Linked DNA regions of Homo sapiens: region 2 is linked to region 1. The links are contacts of gene promoters, found by promoter capture Hi-C in blood cells and fetal thymus (Javierre and others, 2016). All regions are on one chromosome and are shown on one strand. Each heading gives the region's core, a stretch centred on a gene start or on the middle of the fragment in contact. The rest is flanking DNA. Distances are from core to core; before and after follow the strand shown. Region 1 holds the start of FBXO42 (F-box protein 42). Region 2 overlaps EPHA2 (EPH receptor A2).

Evidence for each region. The method cuts DNA at HindIII sites, captures the fragments that hold promoters and counts their contacts. A CHiCAGO score of 5 or more calls a contact.
Region 2: a contact is called between a fragment that was not itself captured here and the fragment with the promoter of FBXO42 in region 1, in 1 of 17 cell types (endothelial precursors). The highest score is 6.0, in endothelial precursors.

What each region holds. Positions count from the first base shown.
Region 1 is chr1:16,350,463-16,353,813 of GRCh38, reverse strand. It overlaps FBXO42 (F-box protein 42), which reads left to right and starts at 1,334. Exons shown (of 10, transcript NM_018994.3): 1 at 1,334-1,559. RefSeq lists an enhancer at 1,295-2,069. The HindIII fragment of the contact is 4,914 bases long and covers 1-2,973 here.
Region 2 is chr1:16,125,466-16,129,058 of GRCh38, reverse strand. The region is part of intron 16 of EPHA2 (EPH receptor A2); the gene reads left to right. Among named protein-coding and RNA genes, the nearest start is that of EPHA2-AS1, 28 kb to the left of the region's middle. The HindIII fragment of the contact is 2,390 bases long and covers 1,149-3,538 here.

The sequences.
Region 1 (3,351 bases), core at 85-2,584:
CATTTTGGGAGGCCGAGGCAAGTGGATTACTTGAGCTCAGGAGTTTGAGATGAGAGTGGACAACATGGCGAAACCCTGTGTCTACAAAAAAAATGGAAAAATTAGCCAGGCATGGTGGTGCCCGCCTGTAGTCCCAGTTACTCAGGAGGCTAAGGTAGGAGGATAGCTTGAGCCTGAAAGACAGAGGTTGCAGCGAACCAAGAACTCATCACTGGACTCCAGCCTGGGCAACAGAGTTAGACCCTGTCTCAAAAAAAAAAAAGTTATTATCAATAGAAATGAATGTCTGGGTTATGATAAGGGATTGTGGACACCAAAGTTTTATCACGCACGTGAAGCCTCCAAGTGGCAGGTGGGCTCCAGAGAGAACAGATTGTAAATGTTTCTTACCAGTCTTAAGGTCTGTTGTGTTGATGTCAATGCTGAAGGATGTAATGAGGCATGTCTCATGTCCTGCTTCCCGTCATGGCCTGAACCAGTCTCTCAGGTTGGTTACATTTTAGACTGCCCTGGCCTAGGAGGAAGTCCGTTCAGATGGTTTGGTGTTGGGGGGGGGGTGGGGGCTTAGTTTTTTGTTTTGTTTTGTTTTGTTTTTTTGGCTTACAGAGTTTAGACTGAAGCCTTTGACTCTGTATCTGGCATTTCCTTAGACCACATGCTGTAGGGCTGGGCTCATGAAGGTTCTCACCTACACACCAGGTTGCTCCCTTGAGAAGGGGGACTTTGCTGGATCCTATAACCTAGCTAGTAGGAAGTAAAGGAGCTTGGGAACCAGACAAGCCTGAGTTTAAATCCTCTTTCCCGCGCCGCCCCACCTCCACTGATAGGTGTGTGACTCCGGGCAAATAAGTGATCGTTTTCTGTGCCTCAGTTTCCTCATCTGAAAAGTGGAGCTAGTAAGAACTCACAGTGGTTGCTACGAGGCTACGGTTAAGGGAAGACTTCTCCTGCACACCTCAAGCACAGTTTCCCTCCCCTTGGCGATATCCAAGAGCACTCACATCCGCCACAGCCCTCTCTGCTCATCGGGCCCTCGGGGTAGAAGTGAGTTAATTCCTGGCTAAATGTTAGTCTCAAACCACCGGGAAAACCACCCAGTTGCCCCAGACAGTGCAGCGGAGGGTGGGTGCGGCTATCAGGTCGACGCTAGAGACGCGGCGAAGGCGGGTGCGGAGGCCTAGCTCCCCCGAGCGCATTCCACCCTCCACAGAACCTCGGCCTGTGACCACGGCCTTTCTCAACACTGCGCCGCCCCCTGGCCGCCCCTCGCCATCCCGCCGCGCTGACGTGAGTGCGCGCGCGTCCGCCGCGCCCGCCCCGGCGCATGCGCGCTCTGCGCTGTCTTCTCCCGGCCTGAGCAGCAGCAGCTGCGGCGGCGGCGGCGTTTGAGTGGAGGAAGATGGCGGCTCCGGGCGGCTCGGGGTCCCGCCAGCTGTGAGGAGCCCCGAGCACGGCTGTCGCGGCCTGAGGCAGAGCGCCTCTGCTCTGGCCCTGTCCCTGGCTCCCTCATTACCGTCGCCAGCGGAGCGAACCCGAGAGCGTGGAGCGGGCTGGGCCAGGTGAGGCCTCTCCTCCTCCCCGGGCCGCAGAGGGGAGCCGGCGCCTTCTGCCCTTTATGCCCGGGACTGGCAAGGGGCAGCGGGCGCCCGGGGTCTGACGCAGGCCCCGTATCCCACGCGGGGGTCGGTCCTGGTTGGGCAGGGTGACTTGCTATCGCCGTCCTCGAGTGAGGCGAGGAGGAGGACAGCTCCTTTCCAGCCAGCCCTTGGGTTGGGAGCGAACCCACCCCCTCTCCTCAGCAGGGTGGTTCTCGTCCCCTCACCCGGGCAGTGAAGGGGTGTGTGGCCCGGGCAAGGATGGCTTTAGGGTGTCAGGTAATCTTTCATCGCTCCTCCGAACATTTCACTCCTTTGCGAGAGAGGAGTCGGGGGTCGGGTGCCCATCAAAATTGGGGCTGCGGCTGGGGGCTAGCATCTCTGAACCTGCAGCTGCAAAGGGATAATTTTGGAATTGGTTTACGTTAAATAAAACACAAAAGGCCTTTCCTATCCCCTAGCTTGTTGAGTGTTCCCTTAGAGAAATGGGAACTGCGGATCTCCTTGCTTGAGACAGCAATCCATGCTGTGACTGTGGAAGGCTTCTCTTGGCGAGAATTGTGTGTGCAAAGGGAACGGTGGAGGGTGGGAACGAATTTGTAAGCGAAGAGAAAACGATTGTGAGATCTTGATGGTCGCTGCAGAGTAACTTCAGCGCTGAGTTCGTTTGAAACCTTCGGTTTGTTAAGATTCAGAATAACCAATTGCTTTGTCTGTTAAATCTCCCGATTTCTGTTAGGAAAATAAAAGCCTCATTTCTTAATTGCCAGAGTCTGGATTTTTCTGTGGTGGGATTCTGATCGATCTAGATGAAGATTCTGACACATTACCAGTTTTACTTGCTGGCAGTTGCTGGCCCCGACGTTGAAACTATGTTGTTCCTTTTTGAGAACAACTTTTATTGCTGTTTAAATGCTAATTGGGAGACTTCGATTGTGTTTCTGTCATGTAGGGAAGTCGGTTTGAAGCCTTGTGGTCTCTTTCTTGAGGAATGATGGCTTCACTGAACTTGTGCTATGCAGAATTGTTGAGGCGATTGCTTTTGCTTGGACACACCAAAATATCTTTTGTAACAAATTGGCTTTACTTCTGCTTAAGAATGATGACATCATGGATTTAAAGAGGCAAGGAAAATTTGGGGGAAGTACCATCATTTAGAATTGAATATTTAGAATTAAGTCTGTATATCTTATGGCCATTAGTGATGCTGTGTTAAATTGCTAACTTTGAGTGTATTCACGTGTGTAATCTGATTGGGTGTCTTTTCTATTGTATGTTGTCATTTTATACCCAGTAACTGTTTGCTTTTGACAAGCCAGTATAAATAGATGATTCAATCTACATTGATCCATAGGCATGTTGCGTATCTTAAAAAGCTTTTCATTGTTAAAATGACAACTGTTTAGGTTATTATTTGACCATTTTCTTTCTTTCTTTCTTTCTTTCTTTCTTTCTTTCTTTTTTTTTTTTTTTTTGCAGTTTCTCACTCTGTCATCCAGGCTGGAGTGCAGTAGCACAGTCTCGGCTCTCTGCAATCTCCATCCCCTGGGTTTAAGCGATTCTCCTGCCTCAGCTTCCTGAGTAGCTGGGATTACAGGTGTGCGCCACCACGCCCGCTAATTTTTTTTTTTTTTTTTTTTTTTTTGTAATTTTAGTAGAGACGGGGTTTCACCGATGTTGCCCAGGCTGATCTCAAACTCCTGGTCTCAAGCGATACCCTGCCCCACCCCAGGCTTGAGCCACCGTGCCCAGCCTC
Region 2 (3,593 bases), core at 1,094-3,593, 230 kb after region 1:
AGTGCAGTGACCTGCCCAGGGTCCCACAGCCATGAGGGGGAGAGCAGGATTCCAGGCCCAGTCAGTCGGGATCCCAGAGCGCAGGGATCGGAGAGGTCATTGGTAGAGAAACAGGCTGAGATGTTACCGGCTTGCCTGAGGTCACACAGCCAGTTTGGGGCAGTCTTCTCCAAGATGCCCTGACTGCTGCCCAGGAGAGAGAACCCCTGGCCTACCCCGGGCACCTCTCTCCACTTGGTTGGCTCTCAGCCTGCAGTCCCACCTGGTGAGAAGTGCCACTTACTCTCTGCTGGCCCTGGGTTTGCCCCTTTGTCAAGCTGCCCCTTGGCAGCTCTTCTCCCCTTCCCAACTCCAGCATTGAGACTTTTCCCGGCATGGCCTTGGCACAGACACCTCCTCCTGTCCCAGGAAGGGGGAGACCCTATCCTCTTAGCCTTTTGTGCCTCTAAAAATAGTGGCCAGTTTCAACAACCCAGCTTGTGCATGGTCAAAGATCATGGCGGGAACAGACCGGGAGGCTGGGAGGTTTTGGGAACCGTATGGAGGGGATGACCTGGGCCTCCCATGGTTCTAGGTCACAGAAGTTCTGGGATTTGAGCCTGTTCATGAACATTCTCTAGGGCCTTTGGAAATTGCTCAGCTGGGCTCCCAACCTGCTGGCCAAGGCCATAGCCTCCCTCAGGGGACAGTCGGTGATGGGAAGCAGGCAGGAACAGAGCCGACCAGAGGGGAGGCGGGGACACGTAGGGAGGGGAGATGGATCACAGGATGTCTTTTGCTGCCCGCCAGCCCAGCAGGGCCACAGGCTTGGGCTCTGCACACATACCTGGGTTCAAGTCCCGCATCTGCCACTTCCTAGCGGGTGACCTTGATCAAGTTTGATGGGATTGCATGGGTGCAGCGCAGATGACACGACTGGTATACAGTGGGTGCTAAATCCTCATTGCTCTCCTCTTTTCCTCCACTCCCTTGCTTTCCTCCCCTAGCACTGTGCAAATGCCCCCTCCTTTTCTCCTTTTTCCTGGGAACATCCACCAGACCCTTTGCTCCTCCAGGGGCTCCCACCAAGGACAACACAGCCTCTCTTCTGGGGACCAGAGCTGAGGGCACGGAGAAGTGCTTATGGGAAACACATGTTCTTAGAAGCTTCCCTAAATAGCCCAGGGTGCTCCTCGCCAATTCCTTTCCCACGAGCAGGGACGGGGCAGTCTTGGATGGATGGAGGCTGTGTGTGTGTGCGCTGCAGTGCGCGTTGTTGTGAAAGGGCCTGGATAAAGGCAGGAAGTCATTCGGCGCCCCCCACCACCCACCACCCGCTCCTCCCACCAGCCACTGGTGCTCAGAGCTGGGGCCTGCATGCCTCCTCCTTCCCCTCTGCCTCTTTCCAAATAAATGGGGATCTCAAAGGACTTTTTAAAACCTGAAGCCTGGGTCTACACACGCCATGGGTCCCAACGGGAGACTTGGAGCTGGTAGCAGGGGAATGCGTGCCTTTCCCAATGGGATCAGGATTTAGGCTTCAGTGTCCCACCTCCTCCCCTTCTCAGCCTCCTGCCTTCTTGACTCCCTCCCAGGGGACCAGCTGCCTGGTCCCCTGGGGTCCCACAGCCACTGTCTCTTCTCCATTTGTGCTATTTTGGAGTCAGTTGGGTTTCTAGCTAGACTAGTGGTCCCAGATGTTTTGTGAGCAGCTGACGAAAGGCGTGGATGTTGCACCCCAGAAAAATAGCCCAACCCCAGGCTCTGTCTAGAGCTGGGACTACAGCATTTGCATCCTGTGTGGGGGTCGAGGGCACAGGCTGTAGATCTTAGGGTCTCCAGTGCCCTTGGCATAGGCTTGGCACTGAAGGAATGCTTGCTGAATGAATGAATGATCTGACACGTGAGGCTCCAGGAGCCATTTCTTACTCCCGTCTCCCTGCACCCAGGGCCAGAACACAGTAGGAGCTCACCGAGTATATGGCCTTGGAGTTTTCTACGCAGGGCCTCCAAAGCAAACTGTGCTCCCATCCTGTGAGATTAACCACTACCATTTGCAAGAGGGACCAGAGGTGGCCCAGCAACGGCCCAACCTCCGCTAAAGCATTCATTCGCTCATGCATTCATGCAGCAGACACTTCCTAGGGACCTACTATGTGCCAGGCCTATCCTGGACCCTGGGCAGGGGTGGGGGCGGGAGCAGGTGCTGTGGGGGTGATGGGCCCAGATGACAAGGTCTCAGCACTTGTCCTCCTGGAGCTTACAACCCACTGGTTTTTAAACCGGATGTCAGGTTTCTTCTGGGATTCAACCAAATGCAGACTCCTTGCCCCACCTGCGGAACTGCAAATCGAGTGAATCTGGGGTCAGGCCGGGGGTCCTGTCTCCTTCACCGTGGTCTGAGCGCTTTTCCAGGGACCACAATTTGAGACCTTCAAGTGTGTGGGAAACTGCTGCTTTTTCAGCACCTCCAACTGTATAGGTTAGAAACGTCCTGTGCAGGTAGCGTAGGAAGTTCTCCCAAATGTCCCAAATGTCTCGGCCTTCCTGCTGCTGTGGGAGCACCAGCCTCTGCGGGAGGTCCTGGAGTCCCCCCAACTCACCTGGGTCTGCCCTTCCCTGCTCTGCGCCTGTGCCGGGGCTCCCGGAGCCTGTGGGAAAGTCATGTCTGCAGAACTGCAACTAGGATCTTGCATCATATAATTAGCTCCCTTTACAGCCAAAAGTCGGCCCATAAAAACTTGGGTGTTTTCATGGGTTTGGGCTAGTGGGTGAGGACGGTGGAGGAGAAAACTCCCAAAGTGAGTAATAAATGCCCTCCTCACAGGTTCCTGGGAGCATAAGTGATTTCATGAGGGGACGGAGGGGCATGGAAGGGGGCCCCAGGAGAGCGTGTACCCTGTGGGGGTGGGAAAGCAGGGCTGTGGGCTCCTGGGCACATCTGTCCATCTGGTACTGATGCTGCCTTCCCCCTCGGCTGCTGGTTTTGAGGTCTCTCGCCCTCCAGATGGACAGTAGCTCCCATTTTACACGGGAGGAAACTGAGGTTTCCCCAAGGGAAGACATCTTCCTAGTCACTGGATCTGGTGACCCGCAAGCCTCACCCATGAAGACTCGCAAAGTTTAACCCTTCAAGTATTTCCCAAGTCCTTCCTTCATGATCAGCAGTGGGAACTTGGAAGGAGTGAGGGAGAAATGAGGCAGCAGGTGGGAAGAGACCTTGGGCAGAGAGGCTTTGAGCGACATCCCTAGAGAGTTCCTGGGAAGGAGGCCTGAGCTGGGGGCACTGGGAACAGACTAGGGGTGAGGGGAGGGAAGGCATTTGTTCATAGCTGGTTTGATTCCCAGCTCTTCCACCTCCTAGCTGTGTGACTTCAGGCAAGTCACTTTACCTCTCTGACCTCAGTTCTCTAATCTGCAAAATGGGGATGAAAAAGAGCACCTGCCTCACAGATAATTCAGAAGATTTGATTTATTTTTATTTTTTTAAAGCATCGTACAGAGTTGAGGCTTCTGTCGTTTTCCTAACTTTGTTGATGGTGGGCCACCTTGGCAAGCTTCTAGGCTGTGGCTCCTTCTCCCAGGCCTACCTAACCAGAGCTCTCTTGCCCTAC